Linked DNA regions of Homo sapiens: regions 2, 3 and 4 are each linked to region 1. Evidence: promoter capture Hi-C in 16 types of primary human blood cells and fetal thymus (Javierre and others, 2016). All regions are on one chromosome and are shown on one strand. The core of a region is centred on a gene start or on the middle of the fragment in contact, and the rest is flanking DNA. Distances in the headings are between cores, read along the strand shown.

The links. The method cuts DNA at HindIII sites, captures the fragments that hold promoters and counts their contacts. A CHiCAGO score of 5 or more calls a contact.
Region 2: a contact is called between a fragment that was not itself captured here and the fragment with the promoter of RAPSN in region 1, in 1 of 17 cell types (megakaryocytes). The highest score is 5.6, in megakaryocytes.
Region 3: a contact is called between a fragment that was not itself captured here and the fragment with the promoter of RAPSN in region 1, in 1 of 17 cell types (M0 macrophages). The highest score is 5.4, in M0 macrophages.
Region 4: a contact is called between a fragment that was not itself captured here and the fragment with the promoter of RAPSN in region 1, in 1 of 17 cell types (M2 macrophages). The highest score is 7.6, in M2 macrophages.

What each region holds. Positions count from the first base shown.
Region 1 is chr11:47,447,886-47,455,535 of GRCh38, reverse strand. It overlaps RAPSN (receptor associated protein of the synapse), which reads left to right and starts at 6,400. Exons shown (of 8, transcript NM_005055.5): 1 at 6,400-6,763; 2 at 7,386-7,650. The coding sequence starts at 6,572. RefSeq lists an enhancer at 1-123. The HindIII fragment of the contact is 3,655 bases long and covers 3,598-7,252 here.
Region 2 is chr11:47,226,959-47,234,608 of GRCh38, reverse strand. It overlaps DDB2 (damage specific DNA binding protein 2), which reads right to left. Exons shown (of 10, transcript NM_000107.3): 4 at 1,650-1,795; 5 at 1-36. Among named protein-coding and RNA genes, the nearest start is that of DDB2, 16 kb to the right of the region's middle. The HindIII fragment of the contact is 2,598 bases long and covers 1,615-4,212 here.
Region 3 is chr11:47,272,451-47,278,879 of GRCh38, reverse strand. It overlaps MADD (MAP kinase activating death domain), which reads right to left. Exons shown (of 37, transcript NM_001376571.1): 2 at 4,904-5,053; 3 at 3,721-4,317; 4 at 2,678-2,981; 5 at 2,017-2,148; 6 at 602-715. The coding sequence starts at 4,965. Among named protein-coding and RNA genes, the nearest start is that of MADD-AS1, 3.6 kb to the right of the region's middle. The HindIII fragment of the contact is 3,506 bases long and covers 2,668-6,173 here.
Region 4 is chr11:47,316,441-47,324,090 of GRCh38, reverse strand. It overlaps MADD (MAP kinase activating death domain), which reads right to left. Exons shown (of 37, transcript NM_001376571.1): 31 at 256-420. Among named protein-coding and RNA genes, the nearest start is that of MYBPC3, 32 kb to the left of the region's middle. The HindIII fragment of the contact is 3,885 bases long and covers 3,056-6,940 here.

The DNA of each region.
Region 1 (7,650 bases), core at 5,151-7,650:
ATCTCGGCTCACTGCCACCTCCACCTCCCAGGTTCAAGCAATTCTCGTGCCTCTGCCTCCTGAGTAGCTGGGACTACAGGTGCATGCCACCATGCCTGGCTAATTTTTTGTATTTTCCATGGAGACAAAGTTTCATCATATTGGCCAGGCTGGTCTCGAACTCTTGAGCTCAGGTGATCTGCCCGCCTCAGCTTCCCAAAGTGCTGGGACTACAGGAGTGAGCCCCTGCACCAGGCCAAGCTTCCACTCTTCAAGAGAAGCAAGGAAATGTACATTTTTATGTAAAATCTCCTAGATAACACATGTTGCCAACCAACTCAGAAATATTTAGTCCTCACATGCCAGATTGTGACTCTTGCTTCAGGCCCAAACTTAATTTTCTACTTTTGATTATAAAACAGGGATCTAAAATGTGAGGTGTGCAGCTGGTACCTGGCCCAGCAGGCACTCTGGTGATAGCCCTGAATCCCCCGACTGTATCACCACCTTGTGAGGTTAAGTGGCACTGAAAAGACCATTTCATTTTGTGGCTGTTCCCTAACACCTTCCAGGGCTTTTCATCTACTGGGCACTGGTAAGCAAGTCTTAACTCTTTACCCTCTCCTTAATACATGCCTTCTGCCCACCCAGGCTACAGCTTTGGATAAGTTCCCAGTGACTTTGCTGTGCTTCAGGTAAAGATCGCAATGAATTCCGGAAAACTATTGTTCTGTTCTCCACTTTCTCCATCTCCCTTGTCCTCGCCTCCTTTCTAGTACAGTATAATGGTTAAGAATGGGAGTCCTGGCCAGGTGTGTTGGCTCACACCTGTAATCCCAGCACTTTGGGAAGCCGAGGCAGGCATATCACCTGAGGTCAGGAGTTCGAGACCAGCCTGGACAACATGATGAAAGCCCGTCTCTACTAAAAATACAAAAAAAAAAAAAAGCCAAGAGTGGTGGCACGTACCTATAATTCCAGCTACTCAGGAGGCTGAGGCATGAGAATCGCTTGAACCCGGGAGGTGGAGGTTGCAGTGAGCCAGGATTGCGCCACTGCACTCCAGCCTCGGCAACAGAGCTAGATTCCATCTCAAAAAAAAAAAAAAAAAGAACGAGACTCTACAACCACACTGCTTCTGGTCCCAGCTGTCTAGGACCAGCAGATGGCAGTGTAGTCTTGGGCAGGTCACCTTACCTCTCCATGCCTGTTTCCTCATTTGTAAACTGGAAGAAATGCTTAACTCAGAAAATGTTAGAATGTTAAATAGGATTCTCTGTTGGTCTCCTCTTACCTTGCCAGGGGCCGTGCCGTTAGTTACTAGTAGTACAAAGACAAGTAAACCACAGTCGTTGCCATAGAGGAGCATGCCCTTAACCTAACTACAGTCGCTGATTTCTGGAAAACGTGCTCAGAAATGAAATTTTTGAGGCCGGGCATGGTGGCTCACGGGAGGCTGAGGCGGGCAGATCACTTAAGGCCAAAAGTTCGAGACCAGCCTGGCCAACATGGTGGAACCCCGTCTCTACTAAAACTGCAAAACTTAGCCAGGTGTAGTGGTGCTCGCCTGTAATTCCAGCTTCTTGGGAGGCTGAGGCAGGAGAATTGCTTGAACCCAGGAGGCAGAGGTTGCAGTGAGCCGAGATCCCACTGTGTCCGCAGTTGGTTCCTTCTAGTGGGTTCGTGGTCCCGCTGACTTCAAGAATGAAGCCGTAAACCTCTGTGGTGAGTGTTACAGCTATTAAAGGTGGTGCAGACCCAAAGAGTGAGCAACAGCAAGATTTATTGTGGAGAGCAAAAGAACAAAGCTCCCACAGCGTGGAACGGAACCTAAGCGGGTTTCTGCTGCTGGCTTGTTGGGGTGGGGATGGGCTGGTCGGGGAGGCAGCTTTTATTCCTTTATTTGTCTCCACCCATGTCCTGCTGATTGGCCCATTTTACAGAGCACTGATTGGTCCATTTTACAGGGTGCTGATTGGTCCATTTTACAAATCTCCAGCTAGCTACGGAGCACCGATTGGTGTGTTTTTACAGAGCACTGATTGGTGCATTTTACAAACCTCTAGTTAGCTACAGAAAAGTTCTCCTAGTCACCACTCCACCCAGGAAGTCCAGCTGGCTTCACCTCTCACCACCACGGGCACTCCAGCCTGGGCGACAAGAGTGAAAAACTCCATCTCAAAAAAAAAAATAATAATAAAGAAGAAATGAAATGTTTCAAGGAAACATAAGGTACTCTGCTACCTAGAATAAGCGAGTATGGGCATATTCCCATCACTGAAGTCAGATGAGCAAAGACCTGTCTCAGGGAAAGGACAGCTTGATCCCATCAAGTTTTCAAGTTTTGAGGTCATTTGAGTTCCCCAGGAAAGAGGAAGGCTGTGGTCCCCAACTCTGTTGGGGTGTAGATGCAGGCCGCCCTTCCTCCATTCCTTCCTGCCAGAGACTCAATGTGAATAGTGTCTGGGCCTTGGAGTGGGGAGAATCTGCTGGCCCTTCACACCTTCGCTGTGGGCCCAGCTTCCCTCCCATCTGCAGCTCAGCATCAACCCAGGCCTCCCTGAGATGAGAGAAGACCCCAGCCAGCTCTCCCTCCCTTTCCCAGGCTTAGGAGCACTCCTTTGGGGAGTCCAGGTGGCCTTGCCCAGCCACCTGTCCCAGAGCCTGCTCCCACTCTGCCTCTGTTGAGCCTGGGGCATTTGCCTTCTGACCCCCAGAGCGTCCCCTCTGACCCGTTGGGCTCTCAGGAAGCAGGCCGTGTAGTTGCTCTGAATTTCCCGGTGAAGCCGTCTTTCCTCCGCTTCTTCCCCATTCACCGATATTTGACATTTATTGAGGGGCCACAGTGTGCCGGGCCTTGCTCTGGGAATACAGTCAGTAATGAAGGAGACAAAGTCCTGCCCTGGGTTAGGGCCCAGCCATATGACCTCATTTGAGTGAAGAATAAAGACATTCAGCAAACAACCTCACTAATATAAAATTATAGAGAGGCTGGGCGTGGTGGCTCACGCCTGTAATCCCAGCACTTTGGGATGCCCAGGCCAGCGGATCACTTGAGCACAGGAGTTCAAAACCAGCCTGGCCAACATGGTGAAACCCCGTCTCTACTAAAAATATAAAAATTAGCTGGGCATGGTGGCATTGCCTGTAATGCCAGCTACTTGCGAGGGTTGAGGTGGGAGGGTGGCTTGAGCCCAGGAGGTCGAGGCCTCAGTGAGCCTAGATTGTACCACTGCACTCCAGCCTGGGCGACAAAGTGAGACCCTGTCTCAAAATAAAATTATAGAGATAAGTCCTGTATCAGAATGCAGTGTAATTCAATGAGAGGATAATATGCTGATTCATCCTAATTATGACTTACGAGGCAGAGTGTGGGTGTGGTGAACAGAGAAGGAATTAGGAGGTGCAAAGGCCCTGGGGCAGACAGGTAGGCAGGTACCAGAATGTAACAGTTGCCATATTACTCACACTTCTGCTCCAAGCATATACCTAAGAGAAATGAAAACATGTCCCCATAAAACCTAGTACATGAATTTTTTATTTTTTTGAAACAGGGTCTCGCTCTGTCACCCAGGCTGGAGTGTAGTGACATGATTGCGGCTCACTGCAGTCCAAGCTTGTAGGCTCAAGCGATTCTCCTGCCTCAGCCTCGCGAGTAGCTGGGACCACAGCTGTGCACCACCACACCCAGCTAATTTTTTTTTTTTTTTGTATTTTTTGTAGATATGGGGTCTCGCTATGTTTCCCAAGCTGGTCTCCAACTCCTGGGCTCAAGTGATCTGCCTGCTTCAGCCTCCTAGTGTGCTGGGATTACAGGCGTGAGCCACCGTGCCCAGCCCAATTTGTACATGAATTTTTATAGCATCATTATTCATAGTAGCCAAAAATGAAACAACCCAAATGCCTATTAACTGCTGAATCAACAAAATGTATATCCAGACAATGAGTATTAACCAACCACAATAAGTAATGAAGTTCTGATACGGTTGAAAACATAGTTGAATCTTGAAAACATTATGCCAAGTTAAAGAAGCCAGTCACAGATGACCACATATTGTATGATTCCATTCCTGTGAAGGGTCCACAATAGACAGGTCCATAGACACCAGGTGGCTTAAATAACAGAAATTTATTTTCTCACAGTTCTGGACGCTAGAAGTCCAAGATCAAGGAATTGGCAGAGTTGGTTTCATTCTAAGGCCTTGCTCCTGGGCTTGTAGATAGCCATCTTCTCCCTGTGTCTTCACGTGCTCTTCTTCTGTGTGACTGTGTCCTTTTTAAACATTTATTGTGGGCCAGGTGCGGGGGCTCACGCCTGTAATCCCAACACTTTGGGAGGCAGAGGTGGGCAGATCATGAAGTCAGGAGTTCCAGACCAGCCTGACCAACATGGTGAAACCCCGTCTCTACTAAAAATACAAAAATTAGCCAGGTGTGGTGGTGCGCAGCTGTAATCCCAGCTACTCAGGAGGCTGAGGCAGGAGAATCACTTGAACCTGGGAGGTGAAGGTTGCAGTGAGCCAAGATGGCACCACCACACTCCAGCCTGGGTGACAGAGGGAAAGTGTCTCAAAAAAAAAAAAAAGTATTGTGGTCAGGCATGGTGGCTCACGCCTATAACCCCAATACTTCGGGAGGCTCTGAGGCAGGTGGATCAACTGAGGTCAGAAGTTCAAGACCAGCCTGACCAACATGGTGAAACCCCGTCTCTACTAAATACAAAAACTTAGCCAGGCGTGGTGGCATACACCTGTCATCCCAGCTACTTGGGAGGCTGAGGCAGGAGAATTGCTTGAACCCGGGAGGTAGAAGTCTCAGTGAGCTGAGATTGTGCCACTGCACTCCAGCCTATGCAACAAGAGCAAAACTCCGTCTCAAAAATAATTTTTAAAAATAAAAATTTATTGTTTATTTATTTTTTGAGACAAGGTCTTGCTCTGGTGCTCAGGCTGGAGTGCAGTGGCACAATCACGGCTCACTGAAACCTCCACCTCCAGGAGTTCAAGACCAGCCTGGGCAACATGGTGAAACCCATCTCTACAAAAACTAGACAGCTGTGGTCTCAGCTACCCAGGAGACTGAGGTGGGAGGGTCACTTGAGCCTAGGAGGTAGAGGTTGCAGTGAGCTGTGACTGCACCACTGCACTCCAGCCTAGGTGACAGAGTGAGACCCTGTCTCAAAAAAAAGGGGGGGGGGATACCAGTCTTAACTGGATGAGGTACAATGTGACTTCATTTTACCTTAATCACCCTTTAAAGACCCTGTCTCCAAAGACAGTCACCTTATGAGATACTGAGTGTTAGGACTTAAACATATGCGTTTGGTTGCGGGGGGACATGATTCAGTCATATCAAGGTGGGGAATGGAGTGGTGTAACTGCTGATGGGTGTGCGTCTCCTTTTTGGGGTGGTTAAAATGTTCTGGAATTAGTGGCAATTAATGTGCATCTCTGTGAATATACTAAAAACCACTGAATTGCCCAGCCAGAAAGGATAAACTTTTGCCCTGGGGCAGGAAGAAGGCTGGCATGCAGAGAGAGGAGAAAGGGGGGCTGGATGAGCTGGCCTGCTAGCGGGGGCCCCAATACTACATAAGACCTTGCCCTTCTCCACAGTATCTGGTGTTAAATCTCATTATGAGGACCCTTTCAGCCCGGGGTTGGGATTGGAAGTGAGACATTGAAACTTCAAGGGCTGGGTTCTGGCCCGGGTGGGGATTTGCCATGGAGCAAAATAGCCTCTTGCAGCACATGCGGGGTTTCCTGTGCCGGGCACTGTCCTAAGTCCTTCTCAACTCTTTCGTCATTGAGTTCTCATAGCAGTCCAGTGAGCCAGGTACCATTCCTCTCTTCAGTCCACGGTGCCAGGTCACTTGGCTAGGGTCCCACTGAGAGTTCGAAGGAAGCCAGGCTAGAGCTCAGGCCTCTCACCAGCTGGAGGTCTTTCCCAGACTCTCTAAGGTGAGAGTTGGTGAATGGTGTCAGCCTGGGCCTGGATGAGTGACCCACGGTGCTCAGTGAATTTCAGGAACAGAGCCAGGGGATGCTGCGGTCAGGGGTGTCTTGATGGGGAAGAAGCAGGGCTGGGCGCTCACCTGGCTTCCCCGGACCTGCAGGTCCAGCCTCGCTCTCCTTCCCCCGAGCACCTCTAGCCCAAGGCCTGCCCACTTGCTGGAGCTGGCCCCTTGGCAAGGCTGCTGGGAGGGCCCGTGCTGCCAGGGCGGTCAGGGTCAGTGTCAGAGGTGCCTAAGGGACGCCCAAGGGGGTGCCCAGGTGGCAAGGTGCCTGTATGCTCAGGGAAGCCACGTCCCAGCTCGCGGGTGGGTGCAGCAGAGGCCCACGTGACCTTGCTGCTGACATTCCTCAGAGGCCATGTGGCCCCAACTGGCAGCGACAGCTGCAGACGGGCTGAACCAGCTTTGTTCCCAGGGTGGCGCCTGCTCTCCATCCAGGCCCCATTCCGGCTCCCACCCGACGCTGCTTTTGTTCCCACGTTTCGGGGGGCAGCTGGCACTGTGATTCCTGCCCCATGAGTGCCTAGAGGCACGGAGCCACCAGGGATCACCCCACGTGGGACACAGGGCTTGGGGAGGATGGGGCAGGACCAGACCAAGCAGCAGATCGAGAAGGGGCTCCAGCTGTACCAGTCCAACCAGACAGAGAAGGCATTGCAGGTGTGGACAAAGGTGCTGGAGAAGAGCTCGGACCTCATGGGGCGCTTCCGCGTGCTGGGCTGCCTGGTCACAGCCCACTCGGAGATGGGCCGCTACAAGGAGATGCTGAAGGTGGGTGTACCCGGCCTGGGGGCGTTCGAGGGTCAGGCTGGGGCCGGATGTCTCCCAGGCTCCCCAGTCCCCTCTCGGCCTCCTCGGGCTCCCCTGTGTCCCACAGGCTGGCAGCCAGGGCCCGAGGCTCTGAATTTATATCTAAGGCCCTGGGTCTTAGATACTGAGTCTTGGCATCAGATTCAGGCCTGTGGCCTTGAACTGTGGTGCCCGAGTCTCTGAGACTGAGGTTCTCCAGCCTCAGGGTCGAGGGTTTGTGGGTCTCAAGCCCATTGTAGGTTTCAGCCTTCCTGTCTGGTGTTCTGTGTCTGAGCCTGGCGGGGTGTGGGCTCCAGGGTTGCGGCTGGGGGTGGGTGGGTGGTGGAGACTCCAGATCTGAGGCTTGGGATAGAAGGTGAAGGCTGCAAGCCTGAGCTTGGGAGGTGAGGCTGGGGTGTAGGGAAGGTAGCTGAGGCTGGCGGGTAGAAGCTCTGGGTCTGAAAAGAAGCTTTGGGATCTGCTGCTTTGGGTGTGAGGCTGGGGGGTGGGTGTGGGGCCTCCAGGTCTGAGCCTGCAGTGCAGGCTGGGGTCCAAGGCTCAGAGTCCAGGCTGAGCACCACCTGCCCACCGTCGCTGTGTGCAGTTCGCTGTGGTCCAGATCGACACGGCCCGGGAGCTGGAGGATGCCGACTTCCTCCTGGAGAGCTACCTGAACCTGGCACGCAGCAACGAGAAGCTGTGCGAGTTTCACAAGACCATCTCCTACTGCAAGACCTGCCTTGGGCTGCCTGGTACCAGGGCAGGTGCCCAGCTCGGAGGCCAGGTCAGCCTGAGCATGGGCAATGCCTTCCTGGGCCTCAGCGTCTTCCAGAAGGCCCTGGAGAGCTTCGAGAAGGCCCTGCGCTATG
Region 2 (7,650 bases), core at 1,664-4,163, 220 kb after region 1:
CTACTAGCAGACACATCCAGGCTACAAAACCAGATGCTGGAGGGAGAGACTGTGTTGTAAGATTCTTGGGGACAGAGATAGTCCTATTTACTCACTGTTGCCGCTCCGGTGACTAACCCACAGCGGGCATTCAATAAATATTTGTTGAATGAATGAATAACTGTCTTGCCGTGGATTCCTAGTGAGGAACATTCAGACTGCTCTACCGTCCAGACAGAGGGGATGGGATAATGGGGCTCAGAAATCTGTCTGGTTATGGCTGGGCCCAGGATCCCCAGCTCCTAAAAGTCCCTGAAGCAGACAAAGCTTATACCATAAAGCAAGCCCTGAGGCACGCCTGCCCCCCACACCCCGGGTTCTGAGCAAGCCTCCTTTACTGCTCTCTCCTTTCACTCTTCACCCTTTAGGCCAAAGGAGACACAAGCCAAAGAGGGATTGCCTGGCCCTGTTCCTCAGAGCTGGCTAGAAAAGCACTTCTGCCCCCTTCTGAACACTGGGGGAAAAAACACAACCAGGAGCTCTTCTGGTCCCTCAAACCACTGGACTGGGAGGCTGACTAGGAGGGTGCTTCAGGGATCCTGCTATTCAGCCAGAAGAGCTCAGCTCACAGTTTTTCTCTCAAACTCTCAAATCCATGCTACACTGCCTTTTGCCATCCCCTATGAATATCTTCAAGCAGGAAGATTTCTTGCGGAAGAGTAGCCTGGAGCCTTGTCTATCCAATTGCCTGCTGATTTGCGTGCGCATGCACTCCTCATCCCTGCGGGACAGCCCAGGATCCAATCCAATGCTAGTTACACCCCAGCACCCTCACTTAATTCCTCAGGGAGCAGTCAGAGTCACGGCTCTAGCTGGAAATCAAAGTGACGAGTATTCTGTAATTTTTTTTTTTTTTTTTTGAGATAGATTTTCGCTCTTGTTGCCCAGGATGGAGTGCAATGGCGCCATCTCGGCTCACTGCAACCTCTGCCTCCTGGGTTCAAGCGATTCTCTTGCTTCAGCCTCCCAAGTAGCTGGGAATTACAGGGGCCTACCACCACGCCCAGCTAATTTTTTGTATTGTTAGTAGAGATGGGGGTTTCACCATGTTGGCCAGGCTGGTCTCGAACTCCTGACCTCAGGTGATCCACCCACCTTGGCCTCCCAAAGTGCTGGGATTTCAAGCATGAGCCACTGCACCCGGCCGCATTCTGTAATTTCTCCAGCCACTTTCTCTTGGGAAGTCCAGAGCACTTTATGGAAAAGATTCCATCCATATAAGCTTCCACCCAGGAACAGGTCAGGTCATTACACCACAGTGAGTGCAGGGCATTCAGTCTCAAGTTCTGAGCTGTTGCTCCATTCTCTAGGTGGCTTTCTGGGTCCACGCCATGCTGGCTTATCTAGTGAGGGTCAAGGTCCAGTCTAATACAGGTATGACTTACAGAAGAGCTGAGGCTCCAGAACACCTTCCCAAAGCAGTAACCCACCTGGACCAAAGTGAGGGCAGCCAAGGAGCAGTTTGAGAAAGAGAAAGAAGGGCGGAAAGTGGCTGACATCTTTCCTTTCTTCCCTGGGCCAGGTTGGGTTAAGGAAATGGGATCTGGATGCTCTTGCCGGAACTACACCTAAGCTTAGAAGCCCTTTCCCCTGCTAGTTAAACTACTCACTTGATGGTGTCTGAGCTGGCAAAAACTCGTAGAATGTTGCCTTTAAAGTCTTGCAGCCTAGTTGTTCCCTCCATTGAGGAGGCGTAAAACTGGTTGGTATTGAGAGGGTTAAACTTCAGCCCAGTGATGCTCCCTCCAGCTCCAATCTAACACGAGGAAGGAAAAAGCCAGTGAGTGATGATGGGCCTGGCCGTGAGGAACCAGGCCTGGGCACACATGCTGCGCCGTCACAGAAGCACCCCTCGAGCAGCGCTTGGGGCCAGGTCAGCTTAGACACTAGGACGCTCTCTACAGGGCCTTCACTTCTTTTTCTTTTCCTTTGAAATAGGGTCTTTCTCTGTCACTTAGGCTGAAGTGCAGTGGCACAAACACGGCTCACTGCAGCCTCAATCTCCTGGGCTCAAGCGATCCTCCCACCTCAGCCTCCCAAGTGCGTGCCACCATGCCCAGCTAATTTTTCTATTTTTTTTTTTTAAGATGGGGTTTTGTCACGTTGCCCAAGCTGGTCTTGAACTCCTAAGCTCAAGCGATCCCCCTGCCACGGCTTCCCAAAGTGCTAAGATTACAGGCATGAGCCGCTTTGTCTGGCCCCTTCATTTCTTTCTTTTTTTTATTTTTATTTTTATTTTTATGTTTTTGAGATGGAGTCCTGCTCTGTCACGACCTCGGCTCACTGCAACCTCTGCCTTCCAGGTTCAAGCGATTCTCCTGCCTCAGCCTCCCAAGCAGCTGGGATTACAGGTGCCCACCACCACGCATGGCTAAATTGTATATTTTTAGTAGAGACAGGGTTTCACCATGTTGGCCAGGCTGGTCTGGAACTCCTGCCCTCAGGTAATCCGCCACCCTTGGCCTCCCAAAGTGCTGGGATTACAGGCGTGAGCCACCGTGCCCCGCCTCCCTTCATTTCTTAAGGCTTTATTTTTACTTTTTTTTTTAATTAACATATAGCAAATTTGGGATATAAAGTTCTCTGAATTTTAACATATGTATAGACTTAAATAACCACCACCCAAATCAGGATGCAGAACATTTGCAACAGCCCAAAAACTCCATCGTGGTATCCCATTGTAATCACACCCTCCCCTCGCCCCCAGCCCCTGGCTGATCTGTTCTCCATCACTATTGTTTTGCCCTCATAGAATGTCCTATAGACCGAGCACAGTAATCCCAACACCTGGGGAGACTGAGGCGGGGGGATTGCTTGAGGCCAGGAGTTCAAGACCAGCCTAAGCAATATAGGGAGACCCCATCTCTACACACACAAAAAAAATTTAGACATGGTGGTAGGTGCATGTGGTTCTAGCTACTCAGAAGGCTGAGGTGGGAAGATGACGGAAGCCTGGAGGTCGAGGCTGCAGTGAGTTGCGATCGAATCACTGCACTCTAGCGTGGGTGACAGAGCAAGACCCTGTCTCTAAAAATAAAATAAAATAAAATTAAAAATAGAATGTCATGTAAATGAATTAGGCAGTATGCAACCTTTTGAGACTGTCTTGTTTCATTTCACTCATCATGCCTCTGAGATTCATCTGAGTTTGCTGTATCAAGAGCTCATCTCATTTTATTGCTGAGGTATTCCATTACATGGATGTGCCCTAATTTGTTATTCCCACAGTGCTCTCTTTAGAAGAGCTTCAGCTCAGAGCAGTGGCTGAGTTAGGAGGGCAGGAGTCAGATCTGTGCCCCTTCCTATTCTTCCAAACATTCATGAAAATGATGATGAAAATAATCATGAGAATATCAATGGCTTAACCTTATTAAGTGCTTACTATGTACTAGGCGCTGGTTTTTTGGGGGGATTTTCTTTGTGTGTTTTTTTTTTTTTTTTTTTTTTTTTGAGATGAAGGCTTGCTCTGTCGCCCAGGCTGAAGTGCGGTGGCACAACCTCAGCTCACTGCAGCCTCCACCTCCTGGATTCCAGTGATCCTCCTGCCTCAGCCTCCTGAGTAGCTGGGATTACATGCCCACACCATCACACCCAGCTAATTTTTGTATTTTTAGTAAAGACAGGTTTCACCATGTTGGTCAGGCTGGTCTCGAACTCCTGACCTCAGGTGATTGGCCTGCCTCGGCTTCCCAAAGTGCTGGGATTACAGGCGTGAGCCACTGCGCCCAGTCAGGCACTGTTTTAAGAACTTTACATCCCCAAGATGTAAAGTTCTCCACTTGTCCGCCTTTCTCCACCTTTTCCACTTCTTCTTTACGCTGCAGCTATCCCAGCCTCACAGACCTGTACAAGTTCTTCTATGCAACAACCACTTAGCTATCACAACATACTAACTGGCACATTCCCTTCCCTCTATAAAACATTCTAACCTCACGGTCATTCTAATGCTCATGGTCTGCCAAATGCTTGCTGGTAGTATGACAATCTTCGGCTCCCTCCAGTTGAGTTCTATGCTTACCAAACCAAGGGTTGGTTGTAGTTGTTCTCAAACCTGTTTATTCCAATTGTATCTTTTATTGCAATTAACACCAAATTTAATTAAGCATGTAAATTGATGAAATACATGCAAAAACAAAGGCCATTATTACTACTATAAAAGCCGTGTTGAAAGCTTTGGAAGAACTTGATAATGAGTTGCAAAAATAATAGCTATTGGCTGGGCACAGTAGCTCACATCTATAATCCCAGTATTTTGAGGGGCTGGGGCAGGAGAATCGCTTAAGGCCAGGAGTTCAAAACCTTGATGCAGTGGTGCAATCCTGGCTCAGCGTAGCCCCAACCTCCTGGGCTCAAGCAATCCTCCCGCCTCAGCCTCCCAAGTAGCTGGTGCTATAGGCTATAGGTGTGTGTCACCAATTTTTTTTTTTTTTTTTTTTTAGAGACAGGGTCTCACTATGTAACTCAGGCCAGTCTCAAATTCCTGGGCTCAAGCAATCCTTCCACCTCAACGTCCCAAAGTGCTGTTACAGGCATGACCCACTGGGTCCAGCCTCTATAAAAAATTATTAAAAATTAGCTGGGAGTGATGGTGCACACCTGTGCTCATAGCTATTCGAGAGGCTGAGGTGGGATGGTGACTTGAGCCCAGGAGTTCAAGGCTGTAGTTAGCTATGATCCTGCCACTGCATTCCAGCCTGGGTGGCAGAGCAAGACCCTGTCTCTATTAGGAAGAAGAAAAAAAAAAAAAAAAAGAAGAGCCATCAAATTAAGCATAGGGTGAGATACTTATAAAAGATTAAGGTAATAAAAATGTAAAAGGAATCTGCAATCAGATTGCTTCACAACTGTCTTACTTTGTATACTGAAAACCTTAAATTTGTATCAATGTCTTCAATTCAAAGTCAACACCACAGAGTTGATTCGAGTTTCTCTCTTTCCATGTTTATAATTCCCTTCTTTGACAGTGAAAAATGTGGTTCCCATTTTACTCAATATACTTACATATTTGATTAATCTCCTTGTATGTAACCAGTCTTCCACTATTGCTGCCACACACTCCCCAAATGCACGTCTTCCTTAGGATGCTTGGACTCTTTTACCCTCCCGAGGGCACAATCACCCTCTTCCCTCTCTCCACTCCCTCAACCATGCAGACACAACTTCCTTGCCCACATCAGGCGCCACGGCCGCCCCTCTCCATGCAAAAGCCCTGCTCACCCCACTTGACTCCGCCACCCCACTCTAGGCCTCCCTGTGGTTCAGCATCCTCAACCCCGCTTCAGACTTCACTATTCCATGCCCGGCCTCCTCTACTCTTCACCCCTGCCTACATGGATGCCCTTCTGATCTTGTTTGGGCCCAGTCTCTATGTACTGAGCTGCCACCTGCCACCTGTAATGACATTCACCTCAGCTTCAGGGGCCCCAGCATCTGGCACTTCCAGCACTGTAGCCTTCCCACTACGTAAACATCTATCTTGCTTGATCCTACCTAATGACTTTTGGTTTGAACTGTTCAGGAAGGGAAAAAGAAGATGAAGAAAGAGGAAGATAGATAGATAGATAGATAGATAGATAGATAGATAGATAGATATTTCTTTTTTTTTTTTTTTTTGAGATGGAGTCTCACTCTGTAGCCCAGGCTGGAGTGCAATGGTGCCATCTCAGGTCACTGCAACCTCCGCCTCCTGGGTTTAAACAATTCTCCAGCCTCAGCTTCCCAAGTACCTGGGATTACAGGCTCACGCCACCACGCTTAGCTAAGTTATGTATTTTTAGGAGAGATGGAGTTTCATCATGTTGGCCAGGCTGGTCTCGAACTCCTGACTTCAAGTGATCCGCCTGCCTCGGCCTCCCAACAGTCATGAGCCACCGGACCTGGCTGAGGAAGAGATATTGATCTTTCCTTCCTTTTTTTTTTTTTTTTTTGAGACAGAGTCCCATGCTGTTGCCCAGGCTGGAGTGCAGTGGCACAATCTTGGCTCACTGCAACCTCTGCCTCCTGGGTTCAAGCAATTCTCCTGCCTCAGCCTCCCGAGTAGCTGGGATTACAGGTACCTGCTACCATGCTTGGCGAATTTTTGTGTATTTTTAGTAGAGACAGGGTTTTGCCATGTTGGCCAGGCTGGTCTTGAACTCCTGACCTCAGGTGATCTGCCCACCTTGGCCACCCAAAGTGCTGAGATTACAGGAGTGAGCCACCGCACCCAGCCAGATATTGATCTTAAACCCTCCGTCTCCACAGACTAGAAAAAGAGGGAATAATTCCCAAGCTAAAGAGGGCAGCATAATTTTTTTTTTTTTTGAGACAGAGTTGTGCTCTGTCGCTCAGGCTGGACTGCAGTGGTGCACTCAGCTTACTACAACCTCTGCCTCCTGGGCTCAAGCAATTCACAGAAATCAGCATAATCTTTTTTTTTTTTTTTTTTTTTTGAGACAGAGCCTCACTCTGTTGCCAGGCTGGAGTGCAGTGGTACGATCTCACCTCACTGCAACCTCCACTTCCCAAGTTCAAACGATTCTCTTGCCTCAACCTCCCGGGTAGCTGGGATGACAGGAGTGCGCCACCACGCCCAGCTAATTTTTGCATATTTAGTAGAGACGGGGTTTCACCATGTTGGCCAGGATGGTCTCCATCTCCTGACCTCATAATCCGACCCCCTCGGCCTCCCAAAGTGCTGGAATTACAGGCGTGATCCACCACGCCTGGCCAGAAATCAGCATAATCTTGATACACAAATGTGACAAGGATTTGGCCAATTTTACACATGAACACAAATGCAAAGATCTTAAAATATTTGCCAGCTCAATCCAGTAATATTTAAAAACGATAAATATGTTATGGCCAGGATGAACTTATTCCAAGAATGCAAAGTTGGTTTAACTATTAAAAATCAATCGGGCCAGCTGGGCGTGGTGGTGGGTGCCAGCTTCTTGGGAGGCTGAGGCAGGAGAATTGCTTGAACCCGGGAGGTGGAGGTTGCAGTGAGCCAAGATTGCGCCATTGCACTCCAGCCTGGGTGACAAGAGTGAAACTCCATCTCAAAATTAAAAAAAAAAAAAAAATTCAGGCATCAAAAGAAACAATCGACAAAGTGAAAAGGCAATCTATGAAGTGGGAGAAGATATTTTCAAATCATAGATCTGATAAGAGGTTAATATCATGGCCGGGCGCAGTGTCTCACACCTATAATCCCAGCACTTTGGGAGGCCGAGGCGGGTAGATCACCTGAGGTCAGGAGTTCAAGACCAGCCTGGCCAACATGGTGAAACCCTGTCTCTACTAAAAGCACAAAAATTAGCCGGGCATGGTGGCGCATGCCTGTAATCCCAGCTACTCAGGAGGCTGAAGCAGGAGAATTGCTTGAACCCGGGAGGTGGAGACTGCAGTGAGCCGAGATTGAGCCATTACACTCCAGCCTGTACAACAGGAGCAAAACTCCATCTCAAAAAAAAAAAAAAAAAAAAAAAAGGTTAATATCCAGAATATATAAAGAACCCCTACAAAACAACAACAAATAACCCAACTAAAAAACAGGCAAACAGGAGTTCAAGACCAGCCTGGGAGACATAGCAAGATCCAATCTCTATAAAAAAAAATTTTTTTTTAACT
Region 3 (6,429 bases), core at 3,171-5,670, 170 kb after region 1:
TATAACTGCACAGTAAGATATATGTACACACATATATGACATACATATGCATCTGAAATGAAATATAACTTAATGTTATTGGTTATTATCTCTAGATAAAAGGATTATGGTTTTTCTTTTCACTTATTTTATTTACGCTTATTTTTATTTTTTTTAAGTTTTACAATGAGCACACATAAGGGCTTCCCACCAAAGTCTGAATGTATTCACATTGCAGAATGGTCATATAATTAATTAAGCCTGCACTGAAAGACAGTTTCTTACTGGAAACTATACCCCAGGGAAACCATTAAGAGATGATCTATACCACATGTAATGGCCCTCAGATCACAACTGTCTGACTGCTCTTGGAGGATATGGTGGGGGGTCACTTAATTCTGGCAAAAATAAATCCTGTAATTCTCTGAGACCTAACCAAGGGTTTATTTGGCTAATAAGGTAAAAGGAGCATTTAAAAAAACTTGTTTCAGTAAGTCTCGCAATAGAAATTATCCAACAACTTAGGACGTTCCTGAAAGGAATCTAGAAACAGATATCTCAGGACTGGGTCTAGAATGCAATCCTCCTCTAGACTCTACAATGCCTCAGCCAAGAACCTCACCCTATTGCTGTCCAGATCCACTAGCCATACATCATCAGGCATTTTGAAGTCCAGTTTGTAGAGGAAGAAGCTGGCAGGAACCCCAATGATGTACGGGGTTGGAGCCAACAGCAGCTGTGGAAATGATAAAGAAGGTGAGAAACAAAGACAAAACCTATCATGAGCACTTATCAAGTCTGGATTCTTCTAGATAAGGAAATGCAGATACAATCCCTCTTCCAAAACTCTTGAGGCCAGATGTATTTGAAAATTCAGAATTTTTCAGATTTTTTGAAAGGTAACATGGTACATTTTTTTGTATACAGTAGTCTTTCTTATCCACAGTTTCACTTTCTGTGATTCCAGTTAACTGAGGCAAACTGTAGTCTGAAAATATTAAAAGGAAAATTCCAGAAATAAACAATTCATAAATTTTAAACTGCAGCTTGATCATATCTGAAGTGCAGGACAATAGTTCTGAGAAGCATGATGAAATCTCATGCTGTCCCGCTCTGTCCCACCCAGACATGAATCACCCCTGTGTCCAGCCTGTAGCCATCTCGGTTATCAGATCAACTGTCACACAATCTCAGCGTTTGTGTTCAAGTAACCCTTATTTTACTTAATAATGGCCCCAAAGCACAAGGGTACTGATGCTGGCAATTGGGATATGCCAAAGAGAAGCCAAATATATGTAGAAAGAGGCTGGGCACGGTGGCTCATGCCTGTAATCCCAGCACTTTGGGAGGCTGAGGCAGGCGGATCACCTAAGGTCAAGAGTTCAAGACCAGCCCAGCCAACATGGTGAAACCCCGCCTCTACTAAAAATACAAAAAATTATTTGGTGTGTGGTGGTGGCAGTGCCTGTAATCCCAGCTACTAGGGAGGCTGAAGCAGGAGAATCACTTGAACCTGGAAGGCAGAGGCTCCAGTGGGCCGAGATTGTGCCACTGTACTCCAGCCTGGGGGATAGAGGGAGACTCTGTCTCCAAAAAACACCAAATATATGCCCAAAGAGAAAACTGTTACTCTCTTACTGTGTCTAATTCATAAATTAAACGGTATCACCGGTATATATGTATAGAAAAAAACAAAGTATCTATAGAGTTTGGAACTATCTGTGGTTTGAGGCATCCACTGGTGGGTCTTGGAATGTGTCCTCCACAGATAAGGAGGAACTACTGTATTACGTAACACACGTAACACCTGCTGCAGTGTAGCCAGTGGCCTACAGTCATTAACATTTGTTGTGATAAATGAAAACTAAAATAGCATAAGCCTTGCCACCAGATCAGTTCAAATCAGTCAGATTTTGTAGACAAATAAGTTATGACAAAGGATTGAGGACCAGCACTCACTTACAACTTCTTTGAGCATTAAGCCTCCTCCCTCAGGAAGACAGAGGTGAGAAAGCCGGAAGTCGCCTTGAGACTCACCTGCTCTGCTGATGCCATGCAGGTGGGTAGCAGCGGGATGACAGGAAACATATACTCCAGTGGGTAGATCATTGCCACGAATGCCATCACAGACATGGAGAGTGCATTGTAGTCTCGGGACTGTAGCACCACCTGTCATGAGCCATCCAGTAAGAATCACTCCAAAACATAAAATATGGTTTACAAGAAAACAGCTTCCAACATTACAACTTGGTTTCCACTTCATCGAGCCTACAGCTCCAGCTTTGTCTCTCCCACTGCCCCCTGCCCCACCATGCCTGCCACCTCCCAATCCAGGCACAATGGTGATCCTCAGTCACCTGAGATATGCAAATCACTCCCTTACCTTCCTAGTTCTTGTACTGCCCATCCCAGGACCACTCACTGAAACAGAACTACTGATATTTCCAAAGAATTAGGTCAGTACAATTAAGGATAAGCCCTAATGAATGGTAAACCCTCTAAATACATCCCACATGATACCAGTATCTTAATTCAACCCACATCTACGGAACACCTGCTGTTTACCAGGCATCATGTTACCTCCTGAAGACAAAAAGGTGAAAAATATGTAGTCCCTGTCCTCTAAGAGCTCGTGGTCTGGCCACTGGCATATTTAAGAGTTTCTCCCCTAGAAAGGTCTAGGAAGCTTGCCTCTCACCTTGTGCTCTAACAGAATGCAGGTTAGCACCTGGAGACAGGCGTCCACACCTAGAAGTTCCAAGGGAAGGTGCAGTGGGAAATCCACTAGGGTGAATCGAGATGGGTCTGGAAGAGCAAAGGTCAGAGCTGGCTGGAGCTCTTGGGGTAGGACCTCGATGTCTACTCGCTTCTGCCCAGAGACGGGTACTGGGGAGCGCAGCAATCGATAGATCCAGGCCTCAATCTCTCGAAGGTCATGCAGAAGGGCACTTGACTTCTCCTCTACCAGCAGCGATCCAGTAAAGATCCGCCACATGGTGTCCCTGAGAAGCAGACAGCAGGAATCAGACACATTAGCATCAGAAGCTGATACCCTACTGCAACTCAGTATCACCACAGAGGCTCTAATGATGACAATGGGAAACGGAGCATCATTAAGAAAGCCCAGTCTCTGAGCTCAGATAGGACCGGAAAGTATATACAATGGCAAAAGCAAATGTAAAGATATATACTGGGTAAGACTTACTGTCCTAACCACAGTTAAAACACCAAATTCCAGCATTACTCCAAACACAATTTTGGAAAGAGGTCTAACTCTGCAGCAGTCTTTTGCTTAGTAAAGATTAACTCTTGGCTGGGGATGATGCTCACGCCTATAATCCCAGCACTTTGGGAGGCCAACGTGGGTGGACCACCTGAGGTGAGGAGTTTGAGACCAGCCTGGCCAACATGGCGAAACCTTGTCTCTACAAAAATACCAAAATTAGCTGGTCATGGTGGCGTGCACCTGTAATCCCAGCTACTCGGGAGGCTGAGGCAGAAGGATCACTTGAACCCAGGAGGCAGGGGTTGCAGTGAGCCGAGATCGCACCACTGTACTCCAGCCTGGGCAACAGAGCGAGACTGTCTCCAAAAGAAAAAAGATTAACTCTAAATACTCTAAATATGCTTAATAGGTCTGAAGGACCTTGAGCTGTAGAGGAAATTTCCTATGCCCCTCAAAGACCAATTACATGGAATCTCTAAATGCTTCCCCCATTAGGCATCAGCAGCAAACTGTACCTTTGTACGCCTCGAGGGATGCCCAGTTTCTTGCCCAGAAGGCGCTCACTACAGCAGTCCACCAGGCGCTTGAGAGTATACAAACACTCTCGGAAGGTGGAGAAGAAAGGGTAGTGGCTGAGCACGCACAGGGACGTGAGAGTACTGTTGCGGGAGCGGCTCCCCGCCTTGGCCCGGCGTTTGCCCCGAGGAGACTGGTTCACATCAGGGGTAGAGTCAGCACTGAGAGGCTGCAGGGATGAGCCACTCTCTGAGCTCTCAGTGCCACCCTCTTCTGAGGCACAGGTGGCATGGGTTCCTTCCTTCCCACGGGACCCTGCCCCACCTTCCCCCTTCTCCTTAGAGATTCGCTTTTGGAAGGAGCGGTAGAAGTTAACACAGATGCCATATCGCGTGACTCCAGTGTCCTTGTCAGTGAGGGTGAAGACAAAAGAGGTATCATCCCGAAGGCTCATGCGCCGCTGCCGCACGCTCAGGCAGCCCTCGGGCTGGCAGAAGAACACTACATCTGGGGGCAGGGGAAACTCAGTGTGATCCTCCAAGGGGTATCGCCGTAGCAATTCAGGAGTCTGGGCCACGCTATCACTGCTCGGGTGCCTGAAGAACATAAAGACAAATTCAGCAGCCTGAAGGGATGGAATGGGCTATCAAATTTTAACCACAGTCAACAAATAAAGCTCAAGATGCTATTTTGGATAAAGTAACCTGACTGTAACACCTTGGAAAATATGGGTGCTGCCTGCCGCATGGAGCTGGTAACCTAAGTGAAGTCTACACTGTCATGAAGGCATCTATTCTGAAACGAAGGGGAGATTTTGACAATAAAATTATCACTGGCACCTTAAGATGATTAACATCTTTTAAAGTGAATTAACTAATAAATTACCAAAAAAGTATACATAGAGGAGTAGCTTATAATGTACTTTTTCTTTTTACAAAATAAGAAAACTGAGGTATAAAGAGTATATTTGCTCGACATCAAGAAGATGTTAGTTAAGAGCAGGGTTTTGCTTTCAATCCACCTGATTTTGTTTTTTCCCTACTGGCTTCGATGCTCCCATCAGGGTAAAATAACAGGAGAAGATGAGCTATGCAAAGCAACATGGAAATCGGAGAAGGGAACAACTGCAGATTTTATGGCTATCCCAGATATTAAGACAAAAGTCAATCTCTTCTTGGTTACCTGGCCCCTACGATCACTAGATAGTCAAGTAACCGAGGACAGAACTTCTTCTTTTGCACCATGGTTCCAATTCATCAGTTTATCTCAGAGAAGCATCAGGGCACCAAGCAAGGAGTCAGCATTCCCAGGAGGAATTCTGAAAATCGAAGTCTAATAGGAAAAAAAGTACTGATAAGATCCACTGCTGTGCCTAAGGGACTCATCCCTCTCAACTTCTTCCCGGCCAGAGGCAGAGGTCAGAAGGTCTTCCACTTTCATACTAATGATAGGAGAACTTGACGCTTGCCTAGCCTCGTGTCTAGGCTCATGAGCTCACAGAATCGAATGTTAAAAAATAGATAGGCCAGGCATGGTGGCTCACGCCTGTAATCCCAGAACTCTGGGAGGCCGAGGCGGATCACCTGAGGTCAGGAGTTTGAGACCAGCTGGCCAACATGGCAAAACCCCATCTCTACTAAAAATACAAAAAAATTAGCCGGGTGTGGTGGCACACATCTGTAATCCCAGCTACTCGGGAGTCTGAGGCATGAGAATCGCTTGAACCCAGGAGGTGGAGGCTGTGGTGAGCTGAGATCGCACCACTGCACTCGAGCCTGGGTGACAGAGTGAGACTCCGTCTCAAGAAAAAAAAAAAAATGTAGATAAATAATGGTTCACCTACCTATCCCTACCAATGACTTAATTTCCAGCTTAACGCCTGGGGCTCTGTTTCTGAAAAACAGACCTAGGCCATCTAATCTGGACTCAGTCATTGTAACAAAAATTGAAGTCACTCTCAGGATCCCTCCAGGGTGGATCAGGATCAAACCAGACTCCTCAACTAGCTAGCACTAACCTGCACTTCTAGGTCTAGATGGAAACTTAATTATTCTGTTTCAACAATCTACATTCAGCTTGATGTAAAACTACCACATAGACTGTCTAGTTAACCATGCTCAGACAATAACAGCTGGCTATTCTACCTCATGTGATCTCAAATGAAAATGTCCATGCCCCAATTGCCTAATCTGCACCACTTTTCTCCCTCCTTCAGGCAAGAAAGGAGCCCAGAGGCCACTGCTACTAGCTCTGCCCTTGGTGCTGAATCATAATCTCTCCTCTATTTTGATCTCAGGCTCAGAATCAGTAATACAATACCCACAGATGAGTCCTTGTCCTACTATACATTACAGAGGCTATGAATTAGAGGCAGAAATACCAGGATTTCTGCAAGGACAGGGAGACGTGCTCAGAGAAATTTCTAAACTATGTCCTAAAATTAGGAAAAGCTTTCATGGTCTTAATTATAATTTATTTCGTGTTAAGTGTCTATACACTTCTCTAAATAAAACGTTTCACCCCGCTGCACAGCTATTTCTGGTAGGGCTACTTCTTCTATGAGTAGAAGTTCTTTTCTCATATTTCTAGTGTTCCAGGATTCTACCTCTGTGCTCTACATGCGGCCTAAGACCTTGTTCAATGCACACGGAGAGAAACCCATTATCGTATACACACACACACCCTCTACTCCCTCACCTGCTGCTGCG
Region 4 (7,650 bases), core at 3,749-6,248, 130 kb after region 1:
CATATGAATAGTATGGCTTTAAAGAAGGCATGGGTACAGATGTGTAGGAATGCTAGATATGGTTGGTTAATACCGATTGTGACTACTATTAGGCCTAGTTGGCTTGACAGAGACAGCTTTAGGTACTCCACCCAACAGCTGGAGACAGAAGTGTGGCTCCAGATGTGTGTTTTGGAATTTTAACTTCCCAAAGAGAAATTCACTATTTGGTCTTCAATGCCTACTAGCCCCAACCCAAACACAGATCCTGCGTACCTTTTTAGTATAGAACTTGTTGAGCTGGGTCTCAGAGCCATTTCTACGCCACAAGCACAACACCTTCGTCTTGGGACAGTAGGTCATGTTGATGAGCTTCTCGTACCACCAGCGCTCATACACTGTTCCGATGTTACTACGCAACACCACACAGTCATCGCACACCTGGAGAAGTGCACAAAGCGGCTCAGTGGTTCCTGTCTCTGACAGCCTCTCCCTAGACTGTTTCCTACAGGGAAAGGTGGTCCTGGGGCATCCCCATGGTCAGGTTTTCTGCCTTACGCTCATGGTTTCCCTAGGTGAAGACACAAAACAGAACTACTGACATGCTGCCTGCTACAAGGATTGTTGGAAGAGATGGAGTCATTAGAAGGAACCGATGTATAAGGGAGGAGGCACAAATCAATCAGTTATTTATTACCTCTTTTTTTTTTTTTTGAGACAGGGTCTCACTTTGTACCCCAGGCTTGACTGCAGTGGCGCCATCTCAGCTCACTGCAGCCTCGACCAGCCAGGTTCTTCCTGCCTCAGCCCCCAAAGTAGCAGGGACTACAGGTGCACACCATCACATTGGCTATAATTTTTTTTTTTTTTTTTTGAGATGGAGTCCCACTCTGTTGCCCAGGCTGGAGTGCAGTGGTGCAATCTCGACTCACTGCAACCTCTGCCTTGTGGGTTAAAATGATTCTCCTGCCTCAGCCTCCCGAGTAGCTGAGATTACAGGCACACATCACCATGCTCAGCTAATTTTTGTATTTTTAGTAGAGACAGGGTTTCACCATGTTGGCCAGGCTGGTCTCGAACTCCTGACCTCAAGTGATACACCCGTCTTGGCCTCCCAAAGTGCTGGGATTACAGGCGTGAGCCACCGCGCCCGGCCCAGTTATTTATTACCTCTTATGTGCTCTACGGACTTAAAGTATTTGGAGGAGATCTCATGCCTCCATCTTACAAGCTCAGGAATCATCTTTGTTGACAAACACAAAGGTAGGAGATCATGACAGACTTAACCAAGGAGAAAAATGGAGCTGATGCACTTTCTAATCCTGGGTCTACCCTTTTTCTATAAAAATATTTTTAAAAATTAATTACACAAGTGACACATGAACAATGCTTATTACATAAAAATGATACAATACAGGATGATATAAATTAAAAAGCAAATATCTTTGACACCTTCTTGTTCAACATTCTCTTTCAGGTGAAGTTATCTGTTCTTCTTTTTGAGACGGATCTCGCTCTGTCGCCCAGGCTGGAGTGCAGTGGCGCAATCCCGTCTCACTGCAAGCTCCGCCTCCCAGGTTCACGCCATTCTCCTGCCTCAGCCTCTCGAGTAGCTGGGACTACAGGCACCCACCACCATGCCCGGCTAATTTTTTATATATTTTTTTAAGTAGAGACGGGGTTTCACCGTGTTAGCAAGGATAGTCTTGATCTCCTGACTTCATGATCCGCCCGCCTCGGCCTCCCAAAGTGCTGGGATTACAGACGTGAGCCACCATGCGCAGCCAGTTATCCGTTCTTAAGGCTTCAAATGTTACGGGAGACATTACAGCACAATGGTGAAGGGCACAGGTCTAAAGTCAGCCTGAGTTTAGATTCCAGCTCTGCCATTACTGAGCTGTGCCACCCTGAGCAAGTTCATCTGTGTCCACAATTCCTCACAGGTAAGATGGGGATAGTAACAGTAATAACTTCCTACAGTTACTATGAAGACTAAATGAGTTAATGTGCATAAAGTATTTAAGGTGCACACAAAGCCAGGCACACAGAAAGTACCCTAATTAGCTACTAGATATCAGAACTATGATACTAATGATTATTACCATGTTGATGGTTCTTACCTTTCTCCATCTTAGACCTCTCTTCCTGAGCTCCTGAGCTTCTCAGTGTCTGGATGCTTCACATGTAGCACCTCAAACTCATTGTGTCCAAATCTGAACTCAACATCTCCTCCTGGGCAGATCCTCCTTTTAAGTCTGCTATTTGAGGAAATGGCACCACCATCCACCCAGCTGCCCCAGCCTGAAATGAAGAATTGATGCCCGACTCCTTCCTCTTCCCTCTAACTAACTACACTCCATCACTGAGTCCCATTGGTTCTAGCTCAAATATCCCTGACTGCTCTTCCACTCCCCAACCATTAACTCTTACTCTTTCTTCAAGTCTAAGCTCAAAGGTCAACTTCTCAAAGGAGTTGTCCACAGCTCCTAGGCCCTCTGGTATTTATTCTGCCCCCCCTGAGCTTCTTTCATAATGCTCACCATATTTTATAATACTCTTTAATTATCTGATTTCCCCAATAGCTTGTCAATGCTAAGGGCAATAGAAATCACGTCTGTCTTATTCACTGCTATAATCCCAACACCCAACAAAGTACCTAGCATATAATACGTGCTCCACAAATATTAGGTGAGTGAGTAAGGAACACACAAGACTATCAGGTTTAAGCTACTGTATAAGACTTTACTGGAGTTCTAAAGCCTTTGAAGAATCAGTCAAAGTGGCAGAGTAGGAATGGGAAACTTGAGTTCTAGGCCCAGTCTGACTCTGTGGTTATCTCCAGGGGGAAAATGGACAATACCACTCCACCTTTCATAATCCTTTAAGAACATCATGTAAAGGCAGGCAGAACACATTTAGGAGAACACATGATTTCTAAGCTAGAGCATTCTAGTCTAGAGAAATGCTTGTAATATACTGTTATAGTCGTCTAAGTGGCTGTTGGAGGTGTAAACTGGTATAGTTTTTGGGATGGCAATTTGGCAAAATCTACCGAAATTTTAAACGTATATAAGCTTGACTTGAAATTTTCATGTCTAGGACTATATCCTATAGAAATTCTCATGTGAGGGTGCAAAAATATATGTTCAAGGATATTCAATGAGCAATTATTATTATTATTATTATTTTTTGAGACAGGGTTTTGCTCTGTCACCCAGGATGGACTGAAGTGGTGTAATCAGAGCTCACTGAAGCCTTGACCTCCCAGGCTCAAGGATCCTCCCAACTTAGCCTCCCCAGTAGCTAGGACCATAGGCATGCACTAGCATGCCTAGCTTATTTTAAAATTTTTTGTGGAGACGGGGTTTCCCTATGTTGCCCAGGCTGGTTTTGACCTCCTGGGCTCAAGCGAACCTCCCACCTCAGCCTCCCCAGTAGCTGGTACCACAGGCATACATCACCACATGTATGACTAATTTTTAAATTTTTTATAGAGACAGGGTCTCCCTATGTTGCCCAGGCTGGTCTCAAACTCTGGGCTCAAGCAATCCTCCTGCCTCAGCCTCCCAAAGTACTGGGATTACAGGCGTGAGCCAACATGCTTGGCCTAATGAGTAATATATAAATATATATTTCATTTTTTTAAATTTTTTTTTTGAGACGGAGTCTTGCTCTGTCGCCCAGGCTGGAGTGAAGTGGTGCAATCTCGGCTCACTGCAACCTCCGCCTCCCAGGTTCAAACAATTCTCTGCCTCAGCCTCCCAAGTAACTGGGATTACAAGCACCCACCACCTCGCCTGGCTAATTTTTTGTATTTTTAGTAGAGGCAGGGTTTCACCATCTTGGCCAGGCTGATCTTGAACTCTTGACCTCGTGATCCACCCACCTTGGCCTCCCAAAGTGCTGGGATTACAGGCGTGAGCCACCACACCCAGCATGAGTAATATTTTTTTAAAAAATAGTGAGAGGCACTAGTTAAACCAATTATGGTACACCATACGACATCTAATGGCTAAGCATCCATTAAAGAAAAAAAAAAAAAGACACGGAAAGGTATATCATTAAGTGAAAAAAGCAAATTATTTAACAATATTTGTAATTTTTTTTTTTTTTTTTTTTTTGCGATGGAGTCTCGCTTTGTCACCCAGGCTGGAGAGCAGTGGCATGATCTCGGCTCACTGCAACCTCCGCCTCCGGGTTCAAGCGATTCTCCTGCCTCAGCCTCCCATGTAGCTGGGATTGCAGGCGCCTGCCCAACACGCCCGGCTAATTTTTGTATTTTTAGTAGAAACAGGGTGTCACCACGTTGGCTAGGCTTGTCTGGAACTCCTGACCTCAAGTTATCCACCTGCCTCGGCCTCCCAATGTGCTGGGATTACAGGCTCATGTGAGCCACCATGCCCAGCCCAATATTTGTAATTTGATACCACTTTCGTAAGTGCAAAAACAAAATTCCATATAAATAAATTATATTTGCACAAATATGCATTTTCAATAATCTGAAAGGAGTCACATAAAACTCTTCATTACTGGTTACCTCTGGGACAAAGGATTGAAAGGCAGTGAGTAAAACTTTTAATTATTTTTTAACTTTGGCACGGTTTGAAACATTTACAGCATATACTGTTTTACTTCTGTAACTAAAAAAAGGGCAACAAAGACAATTTTTAAAAATCTTTGGCTGGGTATGGTGGCTCACACCTGTAATCCTAGCATTTTGGGAGGCCAAGGCAGACGGATCACTTAAGGTCAGGAGTTCAAGACCATCCTGGCCAACATGGCAAAACCCCATCTCTGCTAAAAATACCAAAAATTAGCCAAGCGTGGTGATGCGTGCCTGTAGTCCCAGCTACTCGGGAGTCTGAGGTAGGAGAATCTCTTGAAGTCGGTGGGTGGATGTTGCAGTGAGCCAAGATTGTGCCACTGCACTCCAGCCTGGGTGACAGAGCAAGACTCCACCTCCAAAAAAAAAAAAAAAATTATATATATATATATATTTTCCTTGGCCAGGTGTGGCAGCTCACACCTGTAATCCCAGCACTTTGGGAGGCTGAGGTGGGCAGATCACTTGAGGTCAGGAGTTCGAGACCAGCTTGGCCAAAATGGTGAAACCCCGTCTCTACTACAAATACAAAAATTAGCCAGACATGATGGCATGTGCCTGTAGTCCCAGCTACTCAGGAGGCTGAGGCAGGAGAATCGCTTGAACCTGGGAAGTGGAGGTTGCAGTGAACCAAGATTGTACCACTGCACTTCAGCCTGGGCAACAGAGTGAGACTCTGTCTCAAAAAAAAAAAAAAAAAAAAAAAAAAAAAAAAAAAATTCCCAAACTGCTGTCCAGTTGATCATGCAAAAAGCAGGCTATGCTCTGAGAAAGGCTAAATCAAATAGCCTCACAGGAGCCAGGTGATGGCACAGTGACCATGGTGCACTCTTCCCTGGCATGGCACCACTTCGAGGAAGAGGCATCTATTTGGGTAATGGGTCCAGTCCCACACTCCAGAGACTTAGCATGAGGCTCCCTTTGTACGGTGGTGAGAGTAAGAGTAGTTCAAGGAATCTGCTGGAGATATTTTTTTTAAAAGGAAAAGAAAAGGGCAAGAGTCATGTGCCACTTCTGCTGTGGTGCAGATGTCCTAAGTCAGCCCTAGGCTCTGAGAGGCAACTAGCCAAATTCTAACACTTTAAAGGGTGACATGAAAATGACTCCTTCTTGGCTACACTGACATGTATGTTTCTGCTTCAGGGTAAGCCCTTCTTGCGTTTGGTAGACCACCTGTTCAAAAAAACTGTGAATGTGATATTCAAATTCAGCTAAACCACAGGGGAACAGATAACATAGGCAAAATTTTACTACTTTATATATAGGAGTTGTATTTGGTCCTTAAAATTACTTAGGTCTGTTTCAGAATTAAAAACACAGAAATGAAGAAAACACGGCCAATTTCCTTTATAATCCTGGAGAGTAAGGCTTTTTCTAACCATGCCTCAAAATCCAGAAGCCGTAAAAGAAACTATTGATTAATTTAATTATATAAAAGTAGCCAGGCGTGATGGCTCACACCTGTAATCCCAGCACTTTGGGAGGCCGAGGTGGGTGGATCACTTGAGGTCAGGAGTGCGAGACCACCCTGGCCAACATGGTAAAACCCCATCTCTACTAAAAACACAAAAATTAGCCGGGTGTGGTGGCAGGCACCTGTAAACCCAGCTACTTGGGAGGCTGAGGCAGGAGAACTGCTTGAACCCGGGAGGTATAGGTTGCAGTGAGCCGAGATCATGCCACTGCATCCAGCCTGGGCGATAGAGAGAGACTCTGTCTCAAAAAAAAAAAAAAGTTATATACAAATAAAAAATTTATGTGTGTCAAAAAATACCATAGGCAAAATCAGAAGACAAATGAGGAACTTTCTGGTGGGCAGATCAGGTTGCCCACATCTGAGCCCACTGATGTGTAAGAGAGGGACAACCATATGAGGCAATAGGAAGCGTATAGCACCACTCATTAAGTATTCTTCCCAAAAGAGTGAATCTGAAAGTGATCAAACCTCTAAACTGAACTACCAGTCTATGAGAAATATGTGACAGGAAACACGCTAATACAAAGGAGACACAATCAGCAAAAAATCTAGAATGTAGGAGACTCCACAGGGCAAACGATCCAATTTCTTCAACAAAATTAATGGCAAAGGGGGTATTACGTGTTATGAGACACTTAAGAATTATATCAACCAAAATTACAAATGCATTGTCCCTCTGACCCAGCAATCTCATTTCTGGGAATCCTTAGACACACTTGCACATGTATGAAATGAAGCAGGCACAGCATCATTCACAGTATGACTATCAGTAACAGCAAATTTGGAAGCAACCCAAGGATCCATATGTACTGACTGGTTAAATAAATTAAGGCACAGTCACACAGTGGAATACATGTAGCCATAAAACCAATGGGAAAGCTTTCTTGGTACTGATACAGAAGAGGACCAGGACAATGTTAAATGAAAAAAGCAAGGGATAAAGCAATGGATAAGATGTGCTATCTTTCTGAAAGAAAGGAGAAAAATAGGCCAGGCGGGGTGGCTCACGCCTATAATCCCAGCACTTTGTGAGGCTAAGGTGGGCAGATCACTTGAGGTCAGGAGTTTGAGACCAGCCTGGCCAATATGGTGAAGCCCCGTCTCTACTAAAAATAGAAAAATTATCTGGGCATGGTGGTGGGCGACTGTAATCCCAGCTACTCAGGCAGCTGAGGCAGGAGAATCACTTGAACCCAAGGGGCAGAGGTTGCAGTGAGCTGAGTTTGGACCACTGCACTCCAGCCTGAGCAAAAGAGCAACACTCTGTCTCAAAGAAAAAAAAGAAAGGAGGAAAATAAGAATTTGTGTTCATATTTTATTGTTTGCATAAAAGTCCACTGGAAGGCCGGGTGCACCGGCTCACGCCTATGATCTCAGCACTTTGGGAGGCCGAGGCGGGTGGATCAGTGAGGTCAGGAGTTGGAGACCAGCCTGACCAACATGGTGAAACCCCATCCCTACTAAAAATACAAAAAATTAGCTGGGTGCGGTGGTGGGCGCCTGTAATCCCAGCTACTTGGGAGCCTGAGGCAGGAGAATCGCTTGAACCCAGGAGGTGGAGGTTGCAGTGAGCTGAGATCAAGCCATTGCA